4 separate regions of the Homo sapiens genome follow, and regions 2, 3 and 4 are each linked to region 1. Evidence: promoter capture Hi-C in human tissues and cell types (Jung and others, 2019). All regions are on one chromosome and are shown on one strand. Each heading gives the region's core, a stretch centred on a gene start or on the middle of the fragment in contact. The rest is flanking DNA. Distances are from core to core; before and after follow the strand shown. Region 1 holds the start of FAM221A (family with sequence similarity 221 member A). Region 2 has its middle 28 kb from the start of TRA2A. Region 3 has its middle 21 kb from the start of CCDC126. Region 4 overlaps LOC105375187 (a long non-coding RNA gene).

Region 1 (3,698 bases), core at 501-3,000:
CCACCGAAGTACCTAGGCAAGAGCAAATCCAGGAAAACTCTTCGGAAGGAAAGTTTGTTTCCTTCTAAACTCATATTTTGACTCATCTTCCCACCCCACCTTCCCAGCCCACCTTTTCATATCTAGGTACTCAAGTCCTGTTTTCCCCACTTTTCTAAAATTCTGACGTCAGTAAAGGACCTGATAATCTCTTTCAGAGGGAAGTGTTGCAAGTTATTTACGATTGCAAAAATAATTTCCCAGCCGGGCGCGGTGGCCCAGGCCTGTAATCCCAACACTTTAGGAGGCCGAGGCAGGTGGATAGCTTGAGTCCAGGAGTTCAAGACCAGCCTGGGCAACGTGGTGAAATCCCGTCTCTACAGAAAATACAAAAATTAGCTGGCCGCCTGTAGTCCCAGCTACTCGGGAGGCTGAGGCAGGAGAATCACTTGAACCCAGGAAGCGGAGATTGCGGTGAGCCGAGATCGCGCCACTGCACTCCAGCCTGGGAAAGAGTCAGACCCCGTCTCAATAAAATAAATAACTAAATAATTTCTCAATAAAATAAATAACTACATACATAGGTCTGCCCTAACATGTTCGGAGCTAGGCAAGAGTCAACTGGAGGCCCACAATTCACATATCTAAATATCCAAGTTATCAGTCAACACCAGCTCCAGCAACTTGCTCCCAGGCAAAAGCTCTGGAGAACTGGAGGCTAAAGGAGCCGGCTCTGCTCTGGGAGAGGACGGGATGGTGGTTGTTCTGACCCTGAACCGGGCGTGGGAACTGACCCCATCAAGCTCCTAGCCCTTATTCTTCTGGCTCAGAATATCCAGGCAGTTCTAAGGGTTACCCAAAACTACACAAACAGGGCAGTCAGAGCAGGGGAGAACAGTCAGCTGGGGGGCCGTCTGCGCGCACACCTCTGGGTCATCTGGGCCACCCACGATGCCGCAGAGGAGCCCCTGTCGCTCGCTCCGGCCTCCCTGGCGGAGCCTGGAGCGTCTCCCCTCCGCTTGTACACACACATCCTCCCGCCCCAACTCCGCGTCCTCAGGCGGTCCTCTCCAGGACTTCCCATCCGCCCAGATTCCGGACGATCAAAAACCCCAGGAAGCGGAAAAAGAGCGCGTCGCTGCAGGTGCACCAGCCTCGGTCAGGATCCAGGACAATGAACCGCGTCCTCAGGCCAAAGGAGCGACTCCGTTTCCAGTTTCGGAAGGGGTTTCTCCAGAATACCAAACACCAGTCGGTGCCTTTCTCCTAAAACCAGCACCTCGGGGTGGGGAGCGCGTTCAGAAGTTCACGGTTGACTCAATTACTGGGTTAATTTGATGTATGCTAACTTCTATAGCCCCGAGTACTCGATGTGCCTGTTTTCAATGGCCATTTAAAAAACAGCTGGACCTCTGTATCAATCTAGAGTTAGTCATCCTTCTTGGAAGGGAGCAGAGGGGCCTCTTAAATGTTATTGGAAGACTCATCACTGCATAGAACCGCGTGGCCCTACAATATTTAATTAGGCAAAGACTAAACTGGAATTCATCTAGGCCTCCCCCAACAGCCCAGGCACAGATTCCGGGAACCCCCGCGGACGCCCGCCGGGCCCCTGCTCGCGCCCCCAGCCCAGGGATCCTGGCCCCTCGGAGCGGCGGGGGGGCAGGCCCGGAGCCACAGCCTCACCTCCGGTACTCCAGGTACTCGTCCACCGCCGCCGCGCCGCCGAGAGGCAACGTCAACCGCTCCATTGCCGGTGGGGAAGCCAAAGGCTTCCCTGCGGACCAGCTGACCTCGAAGCCCGACCCGCCCCGTTCCCTCCCGGTACCGCGCCCCCTCCCGCCCGCCTCCTGATTGGCCCGGCCTGAAGCCCGAGGAGGCCGCGCGCGGCAACTGCGCAGGACGCGCGCCCCTACTGGCTGCCGGCGCCAGGCACCAGAACCCGGATCTCCGCAAGCGCAGCCTCGCGCCACATGGAGTGCAGTTTGCCGCCCTCCACAAACCTTGCACCTATTCCCCTCTCCCTTCCCTGGACCGGCGAGTCTTCTTGTAAATTAACAAGTGACAAGGGAGTGCAGTGCCTTGCATATAACAGGCGCATAGAAAATGGCTTATTTCTTTGTACAGCTCTTTTCGCTTAATCCATCTCTTGAAATATAAGTAGTTTTGAGAAGGTTCTGCTTTAGTTTGAGGCCTGCCTCTCCTTAACTGTCGGCCTGTTTCCAGTATTGGCGTTTTCAAAAACTCTGATGTAACAATCAGTAGTCCTGGGTATCTGGGTTCACTTTGGGGGTTGCTAAAGCTACATGTTCTTCAAAGGAACCGAATAACTGATTTAAGGTGAAGCAAGTAAAAACAATTTAGGTGAAGTTTTGTTGTTGTTTTTTAACTTTTGGAAACACTCTGCAAAATATATTTAGAAGCTGAATTACCATGCGATTGGTAATTTGGCCATAATTTGACTTAGCACGTTGTGGAAAAGAATAGGAAATCTTCAGGCGAAGTCATTAAACTCTGAAGCTCCCAGGGGATCAGCTTTAGCGCCCTCTGTAAAGTATCTGGGAGGGAGAATATGCAAACAATAAGAAAAATAATTAAACTTCAGTACAGTACTTTAGTTTCAAAGTACTGTTCTACATATTTCAGGTCCATAAAACATTATGTAAACAAATTGTTTGGGTACCACCCACCTCCCTTCTCGGTACCCTTTCAACAAACCCCACCCTCTCCCCAAAGTCTTCCTCCTGTTCAGAGGCGTTCTTGACAGTCAGATAAATGAGTGATCCTGAAATCGGATTCATATTTTAGGAAACTGATCTCAGCTCAGTATTCTCTCCTATCACACGTGTGGTTTGCTGCTGTCCATTTTACCTCTTCCACCCGACACCTCCCAGATGGGGTCTTGCTCCGTCTCCAAGGCTGGAGTGCAGTGGCGGGATCTCGACTCACTGCAATCTCTGCCTCCTAGGTTCAAGCAATTCTCCTGCCTCAGCCTCCTGAGTAGCTGGGATTACAGGCACTAGCCACCACGCCTGGCTTTTGTGTGTGTGTGTGTGTGTGTATTTTTAGTAGAGACAGGGTTTCACCATGTTGGCCAGGCTGGTCTTGATCTCCTGACCTCGTGATTTGCCCGCCTCAGCCTCCCAAAGTGCTGGGATTACAGGCGTGAGCCACCACGCCCAGCCCCATTCTACCTCTATGAGAGCCTAGTCTTGCTTTTAGGCAGCAACTGAACTAACAAAGAAAAATAGAAGAAAATGCCAGGCTCTGCAGGCTTACAGAAAAGTGGCAGGGGAATGTCTGTGTAGGCAAGTACAATTTAAAAATCTAGAGGGAAATGGTTAAAATAGATTTAGCCCAATTGTGGACTCTTCCAGGAAGATGCTGGAGCAGTAAACTCTTCTGGCCAAAGAAGTCAACAAAAATATTGAGCGTGACGAATAAGAGTATGGAACAAACTAGAAAATGTTATCCTGACCTTACATAAAGCTGACAGATTTGCAAATTAAAATACTGTATATGGTACTCACCTCTGCTTTAATAAAAAGGTATAATCAAACTATAACTTCCTCCCAATGTGTAGCTAAATTGATCTAGGAAGTAGGGTGGACAGAGGAACATGTAAATTGCCTAGGCAAGTGTTAGGCATTTTATTTATTCAATCCTCATGAAAGTTTATGAGATAGGATTTGCCAGCATTTTGCTGTGATGTATAGGTT
Region 2 (3,698 bases), core at 492-2,991, 120 kb after region 1:
TCATTTTAAAAGCCAGTCAAAGATTCCACTGATTGACATTTGATAAATAAACATCAGGATTATGTTTATTATTTGTTTTCAGTCTTTGCACTATATTATCAGTATATGGTTTCCGAGAAAGATTATCTACTGCAAAACACCACTGTTGGAAAAATAAGTATTTTTTAATTGTTTTTAATCTTTTTGGTGCTTTTGAACATGTTTAGCAGAAACCAATTCTGTTCCCTTCCTCCCAAAAAAAACCTAACTTTACTCTGAATTTTTTAGTTTTTGCATTCCGTAAGGTTCTGTATTCAGTCATTCTCTGGGTAATGTCATTTTTTTACACATATATTTATATAATCACTGATCGAGATTTAGGAAAAAGCATTTCTTTTTTTCTTATTCTTCTTCTTCTTCTTAGGAAAAAGCATTTCTAAAGAATATTTGCTTCCCTTACAACCACAGACTCAAAATCTTTAAAGATGGAACCTAAGCATCTATGTATTTTTTTAAAGTTCCACAGATTTTTCCAGTGGGCACCCAAGAATTATAAACCACTTCCCTAAAGGCAACATTAATGCAAAAGTCCCCAAATAGCAATACGAAGTATTCCTTGATACCACATACATTCATTTATGAGTTTGGATATAGAACACATTATCTAAACATTTTTTTAGTTCCAAAAACCCATCCAAATTTCTTTAGTTCCTGAATTTTGAACAGGATTACCTGTAGCCTGGAGCCACTTTAAGTTGTACTTCTGACAAAACTGGAATTAACTTATGAGTGAGGAAGAGGGTTTACTAAATAAATGACTAGAGCAAGCAAAATTGAGGGGGAAATTAGAAAGCATTTCACAAACTTTAAGAGCTACTTGAAATAATAGAAGTCTTGATTAATATGCAAATAATGGCTAGAAAGTGTGGTTTAATTGGATCTCATTATACCTCTTTAAAAAAATTTATGTGAGTAATCCATAAATACACGTTGTAAAAATTCAAATATATAGAATGGGATAAAAAATGATCTCCCTTTATTACCCTCCCAAAGGTTCCCAGTGTTTGAATTTAATAATGTATATTCTTTCATGTTTTTTTCTGTGTACTTCCTAAGTGTGAATATGTAAAGGGTTTGTTTTCTATGCAAATTGGATTATACTAAAATAAGTAATGCCTACTTTTAAGGATAGGTTAAATTTGTGAATGATTAAGTTCAAATAATATTGAATAAAATAAGCAAAAGCTATAAAAAATAGCAGAATTAAATGAAATAGAGACTTAAAAACAATACAAAGGATCAATGAAAGAAAACGTTGGTTTTTTGAAAAGATATACAAAATTGATAAACCTGGCTAGACTAATCAAGAAAAAAAAGGAAGAAGACCTAAATAATCAAAATTGGGGGAAAAAAGGAGACATTACAACTGATTCCACACATACACAAAAGATTATTAGAGACTATAACAAGCCACTATATGCTAAGAAATGGAAGGAGATGGAAAATTTTTGGACACACAACCACGAAGATTGAACTACAAAGAAATAGAAAACCTAAACAGACTAATAATGAGGAATGAGATTGAATCAGTAATTTAAAAAAACTCCCGACAAAGAAAAGTCCAGGACCAGATGGCATTGCTGCTGAATCGTATCAATCGTATACAGAACAATGTACGCCAATTCTTCCCAAACTATTCCAAAGAAACTAAGAGAAGGAGGTACTTTTTAACTCATCCTGTCAGATCAGCATAACCCTGATACCAAAACCAGACAAGGACATCACAAAAAAAGACTATGGGCTGAGATCTCTGATAAACATAGAGTCAACAATCCTCAACAAAATATTATCATATTGAATCCAAAAACACGTTAAAAAGATATTTAGACAGATACCATGATCACATGGGATTCATCCAGCTGATGCAACAATGGTTCAACATATGCAAATCAATGTAAACATTATAAGACCAGGTGTGGTGGCTCACACCTGTAATCCCAGCACTTTGGGAGGCTGAGTTGGGAGGACTGCTTGAGGCTGGGAGCTTGAGATAAGCCTGGGCAGCATGGTGAGACCCATCTCTACAAAAAATTTAAAAATTAGCTGGATGTAATGATGCATGCCTGTAGTCCCAGCCAGTTAGGAGGCTGAGGTGGGAGGTCGAGGTTGCAGTAAGCTTTCATCGCACCACTGCAGTCCAGCCTGGGTGAGATCCTGCCTCAAAAAAAAAAAAAAAAAAAAAAGTCAACATCACTTATCATCAGGAAAATACAAATCAAAACCATAATAAGACAACATCTTACCCCAGTTATAATGGTTATTATTGAAAAGAAAAAAAAATAACACACCAGGCATGGTGGCTCACACCTGTAATCCCAGCACTTTGGGAGGCCGAGGTGGGTGGATCACTTGAGGTCAGGAGTTCTAGACCAGCCGGGCCAACATGGTGAAACCCCATCTCTACTAAAAATACAAAAATTAGCTGGGTGTGGTGGCAGGCGACTGTAATCTCAGCTACTCAGAGGCTGAGGCAGGAGAATCGCTTGAATCCAGGAGGCAGGGTTTGGAGTGAGCCAAGATGGTACCACTGCACTCCAGCCTGGGGGACAGAGTGAGAATCCATCTCAAAAAGGAAAAAAATAAGTTATGGTACAAACATACAGTTAGGTAGTAGGTAGTGTTCAATAGCCCAGTAGGGTGACTATGTTTAACAACAATATATTGTATATTTCAAAATTGCAAGAAGGGAAGATTTGAAATGTTCCCAACACAAAGAAATGATCAATGTTTGATGTGAAGGATATCTTAAGTACCCTAACTTGATCATTACACATTCTATGCATATATCAAAATATCAGTTACATCATAAATATGTACAAATATTAGTATCAATTAAAGAAAAATAGCCAGATGTGGTGGTGCATGCATCCCATCTACTTGGTAGGCTGATGCAGGAGGATCACTTGAGCCCATAAGTTCAAGGCCAGCCTGGGCAGCATAGCAAGACCCCATCTCTAAAAAATAATAATAAAATAAACAAATAAATAAAAATAAAATGAATGAAATCTGAGGTGAGAAAGAATACATTACAACTGATGCCACAGAAACATAAAGGATTATTAAAGACTGTTATAAACAACAGCATGCTAACAAATTGGACAACTTAGGAATATATATATATATTCCTGGACACATACAAACTACCAGGATCAAATCATGAAGAAATAGAAAACTTAAACAGACCAATAACAAGTAACAAGATTAAAGCCATAATAAAAAGTCTGCCAATAAAGAAAAGCCCAGGACCAGATGCCTTCACTGCTATATTCTACCAAGCTTGTAAAGAAATAATACCAATTCTATTCAGACCTATTCCAGAAAATTAATAAGAAGGTACTGCTTCTTCTGTGAGGCCAGCTTTACCCTGATACCAAAACCTAATGAAGACACAATAACAAAAGAAAACTATATTCTAGTACCCCTGAGAAACATAGTCAACAATCCTCAACAAAATACTAACAAACTAAATTAAATTAAAAATAAATATTAAATTTATTAATATTAATATTATTAGACAGTCTCTTCAATAATAATTACTTATTAAATTAATAATTAATATGTAAAAGATCAAGTGAGATTGATCCCAGGGAAGCAAAGATGGTTCAATATATGCAAACCAATAAACATGATATACCACATTGACAGAATCAAAGACAAAA
Region 3 (3,698 bases), core at 449-2,948, 100 kb after region 1:
GTCTTGCTAAAACACCCAGGCTGCAGTGCAGTAGTACCATCTCAGCTCACTGCAACCTCCACCTCCCGGGTTCAAGTGATTCTCCTGCCTCAGCCTCCTGAGTAGCTCAGATTACAGGCATGCACCACCACGCCCAGCTAATTTTTGTGTTTTTAATAGAGATGGGGGTTTCACTATGTTGGCCAGGCTGGTCTCGAACTCCTGACCTCAGGTGATCCACCCGCCTCGACCTCCCAAAGTGCTGGGATTACAGGCATGAGCTACTGCACCCGGCCAATTTTTGTATTAATTTGGAGAAATTTCACTCATCTGATGCCATACTTATATTAAAAAATTAACCATGGTCTGGGTACAGTGGCTCACGCCTGTAATCCACTTTGGGAGCCCGAGGCGGGTGGATCACCTGACATCAGGAGTTGGAGACCAGCCTGGCCAACATGGTGAAATCCCGTTTCTACTAAAAATACAAAAATTAGCCGGGCGTGGTGGCACATGCATGTAATCCCAGCTACTCGGGAGGCTGAGGCAGAAGAATCGCTTGAACCCGGGAGGCAGAGGTTGCAGTGAGCTGAGATTGTGCCATTGCACTCCAGCGTGGGCGACAAAGCAAGACTCCATCTCAAAAAAAAAAAAAAAAGAACCATGAATTTTTAAACATTCACATTGAGGTGTACAACCTGTATACAGTAAAGTGCACAAAGCTTAAGTGTATAACTCAATACCTTTGTGCATGTTTATGCCCATGAAACCCACCACCCAGATCAAGAAATAGATCAGCTCCCCAGTAAGATCTCTCAGGCCCCTTTCTATTCTTTCTGTACCCCACAAAGTAAGCAGTATTCTTTTTTTTTTTTTTTTGGAGACAGGGTCTCTGTAGTCCACGTTGGAGTGCAATGGTGCTTTCTGAGCTCACTGCAACCTCTGCCTCCTGGACTCAAGTCGTCCTCCCACTTCAGCTTTGTATTTTTTGTAGAAACAACGTTTGGCCATATTGCCCAGGCTGATCTCAAACTCGTGGATTCAAGTAATTCACCCACCTCGGTCTCCCAAAGTGCTGGGATTACAGATGTGAGCCACTGTACCCGGCCCTAAAGTAAGCACTAGTCTTACCTCTAGCATCATATACCATGACAATAAAATGATGCCATTAATTGTTTATTGTAATGCATATAATAAATTATTATAATAAAAATATTGCAAATATTTTAATTTTACTATACAAATTGCTTTCAGTTATATTGCAATTTTCTTTTTCTTATTTTTTAAAAAAATTAGAGACGGAGGTCTGGCTATTTTGCCGAGGCTGGTCTCGAACTCCTGGCCTCAAGCAATCTTCCCACCTTGGGCCTTCAAAGTGCTGGGATTACAGGCGTGAAGCACCATGCCTGGCCTATTATCTCTTTAAAAACAATATATCCATAGAATATTAAATTCTGGCCGGGCATGATGGCTCACACCTGTAATCCCAACACTTTGGGGGGCTGAGGCGGGTGGATCACCTGAGGTCAGTTCAAGACCAGCCTGGCCAACATGGTGAAACCCCATCTCTACCAAAAATACAAAAATTAGCCAGGAATGGTGGCTTGTTCCTGTAGTCCCAGCTACTCAGGAGGCTGAGGCAGGAGAATCATTTGAACCCAGAAGGTGGAGGTTGCTGTGAGCTAAGACCGCATCACTGTACTACAGCCTGGGCAACAGAGTGAGACTCTGTCTCAGAAAAAAAAAAAAGAAGGAGAATATTTATTAAGTTGTTTCAAAGTTTTTAATGCTGGGGCATTACAAAAAAAACTAAAATTGGGAGTATGCTAATCAATTTGTTTAAATGTCTCTTCAATCTATCATATCTAGAAAGCATGCTTTATGGAAATGTTTGATGGTTATTTGTACATGAATCATCTCATTTATGAAATTTATATAAACTTTTCTGTTTCTTTGCTCTAATTTCTGCATATTTTATTTGAATGTCATCTTGTTCAGTATACTTTGTTTTAGAACTATTTTCTCTTCCCTAGAAACAGACTCAGAAAAAAAAGAACTATTTTCTCTAAAATTTAAAAAATATTTTCTCAAAAGTGAAACTTGGATATGTAAGGTTTTTTGCTAAAGCTTTGCTAACATTAGTAATAGCAATGAATAGGAATTAATGACATTAGAAATAGTAATACCAAATAACTGTGACTAGTGCAACTTCAAAATAAATTTCATTCTCCCACAAAGCTCACAAATTGCTCTTTGCTTAAAGATCTTCTTTTGTTTTGTTTAACTTTTCTAGTGCATTGTATATCTTGTCTAAATTAAATCCAATTACGTTAACAACATTTAATAAACATTTTCCTCCTGTGTTCAAAAGTGATTTTGTTTATACTTCATCAGGGTGTTCAGTGTTTGGGCAGATCAAGAATACTATATTTAGGCCAGGCACGGTGGCCTGTAATCCCAGCACTTTGGGAGGCCAAGGCAGGTGGATCACTTGAAGCCAGGAGTTCGAGACCAGCCTGGCCAACATGGCGAAACCCTGTCTCTACTAAAAATACAAAAATTAGCTGGGCATTCTGGCATGCACCTGTAATCCCTGCTACTGGGGAGGCTGAGGCATGAGAATCGCCTGAACCTGGCGGTGGAGACTGTAGTGAGCTAAAACCGTGCCACTGCATTCCAGTCTGGGTGACAGAGCGAGACCCTGTGTCAAGAAAAGAAAAAAAAAAAAAGAATAGTGTATTTAGTCTTTGATTTGATCCAGAGAATATCATTGCTATTGGCTGATTAACATCCAACTAATTCGAAGTGGCATAAGTGATTTCAAGAATGTTTCTGGATTTTTGGCTAAAATTATAGCATGTATACTTTATTTTAGCAAGGCCTTTATTGTAGGCTTTATTGTGCTTGGGGTGGAGGATATCACAAAGTTACAGACACACACTACTAGTGCCATATGTGCATCTATAACAGGATTTACTGGTAGAGCACACACAGTCCCCTGAACTCTTGCTATTTCATAACACAGGCCTGGCCTAGATGTTTTTGTTTTATTTTGAGACAGAGTCTCACTCTGTCACCCAGGCTAGAGTGCAGTGGCACGATCTCGGCTCACTGCAACCTCTACCTCCTGGGTTCAAGCAATTCTCCTGACTCAGCCTCCCAGGTAGCTGGGATTACAGGCATGCACCACCATGCCCACCTAATTCTTGTATGCTTAGTAGAGATGAGGTTTCACCATGTTGGCCAGGCTGGTCTCGAACCCCTGACCTCCAGTGATCCACCCACCTGGGTCTCCCAAAGTGCTGGGATTACAGGCATGAATCACCATGCCTGGCCCTGGCCTACATGTTCTGAATGCAACTTGGCCAAAGTCTCTGGGGCCAGCCTAAGGCAAAAGACTAGACATGCCATGAACAGCAGTCGAGAAGACAGGACCTTGCCTCCTCACTGTTACATACTTAAAAATTTTTGAACTAAACGGGAGTGGGGGTGGCTCACGCCTGTAATCCCAGCACTTCGGGAGGCCGAGACGGGCGGATCACGAGGTCAGGAGATCGAGACCATCCTGGCTAACACGGTGAAACCCGGTCTCTAATAAAAATACAAAAAAAAAAAAAAAAAATTAGCCAGGTGTGGTGGCAGGCGCCTGTAGTCCCAGCTACTCGGGAGGCTGAGGCAGGAGAATGGCGTGAACCCAGGGGCAGAGCTTGCAGTGAGCC
Region 4 (3,698 bases), core at 171-2,670, 87 kb after region 1:
ATAGCTGGTTGGAGTCCCAGAAAACTTGGCATGCCTTAATGTTTGAAAATCCCAGGCAGAGTACAGTGGCTTACATTTATAATCTTGACACTTTGGGAGGCTAAGGCAGGAGGATCTCTTGAGGCCAGGAGTTTGAGACAGCCTGAGCAACATAGTGAAACACCGTCTCTTCAAAACAAAACAAAACAAAAAAAGTAGCTGGGCATGGTGGCGTGTACCTGTAGTCCTAGCTACTTGAGCCTAGGGGTTCAAGGCTGCAATGATCTATGATTGCATCACTGAACTCCAGCCAGGGAGACAGAGTGAGACTCTGTTTCTTAAAAAAAAAAAGAAAGAAAGAAAAATTAAGAAAACCCCATTACATTACTTATCAATCTCTCAAGAGCAAAGAAAATTATCAATCTTGTCAGAATGTCATAAGTTTGGACCAATGTATTTGATGGTAGCAACCACTCTAGTGGCTTTTACTTAGCCATCCTGTGTCCATCATTTAGAATGTGTCCATTCTAAAAGAATGTTTATTTTTGCTCTCAGAAGATTTTCAGAAACAAGCAAGGGAAAAGAGCAACATAAAGGGAAAAGAACAACAAAAAAGTTGCATGTAACCAAAATAAAACCAAGAAAGTTCATAAAAATTTTAACCCAGGCATGTGGATCAGACAAAATATTAAAGTAGGCACACAGACCAAAAGTAAATTCATCAGAAAAGATATGCCTCACAGACAGAATGGAAATTCTGTAGAAATCAGAAAAGACTTCCCAGAAAATACAAAAAGTCTTTGTTTAATCCCAGGAGGGATGTAAAGTCCTTTATTTAGGGCTGCCTTATTCAAATCAGACCCCAAATAAAGTCAAGAGCTTCTACCATAAAGAAGGGGGCGTGGTCTTAGAGAAGACTCATCAGGGCAGAAAAAGTGAGCCATGGAAGCAGAGAACTGAAATGAGTACTGCACCAGATTCAAGAACTGTCAGTTCCTTGTGATAGTGATCTTTTTTCAGGTCCTGTTTCTGGCACCATTTGTGTCAACCTAAACAACAGAGAGAGGCTCTCTAAAAGAAAAATATGTTTATTTGGGAATAGGGCATTGCAATGGGAATACACATGCCACAGTAAACTATGTGTGTATTCAAGGAGGTAAAGGAAGACAAAGGTTTTTACAGGAAAAATTAGGGGCATTACATAATTGTTTTGAAATTATCCTTGGCTACAAGAATCTATAATAACAAGGGTGGCTCGAGTCTGAGGTTAGACAGACAATTGCTGAGCAGATATCCTCATAGAAGTACGTTTTGTGTAAGGTTACAATGACCATTGTTAATGTTGTGATTTTCCAGAGTCTTCTGTGGTAATTTTGTTATCAGGCATGCAAGTGTGAGAATGCTCTCTTCTTAGGTTTCCTGGCTGTATTTGTCAGGGTCTTTGGGGAATTTTTACACAAATGATTCCATTTTGATACTGTCAACTTTCATAGTAATTAAGGCAGTGTGGAAGGAGATCAAAAATAGACAAATCTACCAGTAATACAGAATAGAGAGCCCAGTGACCTGGGTGTGGTGGTGCACACCTGTAGCCCCAGCTATTTGGGAGGCTGAGACAGGAGGATCACTTGGGCCCAGGAGTTTGAGACTGCCTGGCAATGCAAAGCAACACCTAAAGAACACTTTTCAATGATTGAATGGCACTGGAACAAATAGTGCTCTATTTGGAAAAGAAATGAAATTGGACTCTTCACATTATACACAAAAGTCAATTTCAGGTAACTAACAGACACTTTTTTTATTTTTAAGAGACAGGGTCTCGCTTTGTTGCCCAGACTGAAGTGTAGTGCTGTGATCATAGCTTACTGCAGCCTCAAACTCCCGGGCTCAAGCAACCCTCCCAAGCAGCTAGGACTACCAGCATGTGCCACCAAGCCCAAGTAATTTTTTTTAAGAGACGGGATCTTGCTGTGTTGTCCAGGCTGGTCTCAAACTCCTGCCTCGGCCTCCCAAAGTGCTGGATTACAGGAGTGAGTCATGATGCCCAGCTGAAACATAAATTTTAAAGGCAGAAGAATGAAGCTATCTATCTGCAGACTTTAAAGTGAGAAGGAAAAAAAAGAAATAATGCTTTTATTGTTTTTAAAGATAATAAAACAGTATATTGATCTCAAGGGTAAGGGGACAGACTTTTTAAACGAATCCAAAAAGCACTACCTATAATAGGAAAATAGGTAAATTTGACCACATTAACATTAAGACAGCCAGGCTCAATGGCTCACGCCTGTAATCCCAGCATTTAGGGAGGCTGAGGCAGGCGGATCACCTGAGGTCAGGAGTTCAAGACCAGCTGGCCAACATGGTGAAACCCCATCTCTACAAAAATACAAAAATTAGCTGGGCAAGGTGGTGCATGCCTGTAATCCCAGCTACTCAGGAGGCTAAGGCAGGAGAATTGCTTGAACCCGGGAGGCAGAGGTTGCAGTGAGCTGAGATCGCGCCATTGCACTCCAACCTGGTGACTGAGCGAGATTCTGTCTCAAAACAAAACAAAACAAAACAAAACAAAACAAAAACAAAAAAAAACATTAAGACTTGGTTTTATCAAATTACACCATTAAAAGAGTTAAAAGGCAAGCCTCACAGATGATTAAGAAATTTACAATATGGGCCAGATGCAGTGGCTCACTCCTATAACCCCAGCATTTTGGGAGGCCAAAGCGGGTGGATCACCTGAGGCCAGGAGTTTGAGACCAGCCTGGACAACATAGTGAAAGCCTGTCTCTACTAAAAATACAGAAATTAACCGGGTGTGGTGGCGGGCACCTGTAATCCCAGCTACTCAGAAGGCTGAGGCAGGAGAATTGCTTGAACCCGGGAGGCGAAGGTTGCAGTAAGCCGAGGTCGCGCCATTGTACTCCAGCCTGGGTGATAAGAGCGAAACTCCATCAAAAAGAAAGAGAGAGAGAAAGAAAGAAATTTGCAACATGTATAACCAAGAAAGGTCTTGTATCTAGAATATATAAAGAACTATAATCATTAAGAAAAAGAGTTCAGGCCGAGCACGGTGGCTCACACCTGTAATCCCAGCATTTTGGGAGGCCGAGGTGGGCAAATCACTTGAGGCCGGGAGTTCAAGACCAGCCTGGGCAACATGGCGAAACCCTGTCTCTACTAAAAATACAAAAACTAGCCCAATGTGCTGATGCATGCCTGAAGCCAAGGTTGCAGTAAGCAGAGATCACGCCACTGCACTCCAGCCTGTACGACAGAGCAAGACACTGTCTCAAAAAAGAAAGAAAGAAAAGAAAAGAAAAAGAAAAAGAGCTGGCCGGGCGCGGTGGCTCACACCTGTAATCCCAGCACTTTGGGAGGCCGAGGCGGGCGGATCACGAGGTCAGGAGATTGAGACCATCCTGGCTAACATGGTGAAACCCCGTCTCTACTAAAAATAAAAAAAATCAGCCGGGTGTGGTGGCACGCACCTGTAGTCCCAGCTACTCGGGAGGGCGAGACAGGAGAATCACTTGAACCCTGGAGGCGGAGGTTGTAGTGAGCTGAGATCACACCACTGAGCTCCAACTCCAGCTTGGGCGACAGAGTGAGACTTGGTCTCAAAAAAAAAAAAAGAAAAAGAGCTGAACAGGCTCTTAACTAAGGAAGAAATCCAAATAACCGATAAACATATGAAAAAGCATCAACCTCATATGAGGATAAGA

What was found. Contacts are between HindIII fragments. The study calls those that stand out against the background at their distance.
Region 2: a contact is called between a fragment that was not itself captured here and the fragment with the promoter of FAM221A in region 1, in 3 of the 25 tissues and cell types used here (adrenal gland, neural progenitor cells and thymus).
Region 3: a contact is called between a fragment that was not itself captured here and the fragment with the promoter of FAM221A in region 1, in 5 of the 25 tissues and cell types used here (H1 embryonic stem cells, adrenal gland, hippocampus and 2 more).
Region 4: a fragment that was not itself captured here is called in contact with the fragment with the promoter of FAM221A in region 1 in 6 of the 25 tissues and cell types used here (H1 embryonic stem cells, aorta, dorsolateral prefrontal cortex and 3 more).

The regions. Positions count from the first base shown.
Region 1 is chr7:23,678,251-23,681,948 of GRCh38, reverse strand. FAM221A (family with sequence similarity 221 member A) reads right to left here and starts at 1,750. Exons shown (of 7, transcript NM_199136.5): 1 at 1,666-1,750. The coding sequence starts at 1,730. RefSeq lists an enhancer at 947-1,196 and a silencer at 1,527-1,816. The HindIII fragment of the contact is 14,044 bases long and covers 1-3,698 here.
Region 2 is chr7:23,558,360-23,562,057 of GRCh38, reverse strand. No RefSeq gene overlaps it. Among named protein-coding and RNA genes, the nearest start is that of TRA2A, 28 kb to the right of the region's middle. The HindIII fragment of the contact is 5,117 bases long and covers 1-3,698 here.
Region 3 is chr7:23,574,663-23,578,360 of GRCh38, reverse strand. No RefSeq gene overlaps it. Among named protein-coding and RNA genes, the nearest start is that of CCDC126, 21 kb to the left of the region's middle. The HindIII fragment of the contact is 4,271 bases long and covers 1-3,698 here.
Region 4 is chr7:23,591,128-23,594,825 of GRCh38, reverse strand. The region is part of intron 1 of LOC105375187 (a long non-coding RNA gene); the gene reads left to right. Among named protein-coding and RNA genes, the nearest start is that of CCDC126, 4.4 kb to the left of the region's middle. RefSeq lists an enhancer at 1,035-1,084. The HindIII fragment of the contact is 6,372 bases long and covers 1-3,698 here.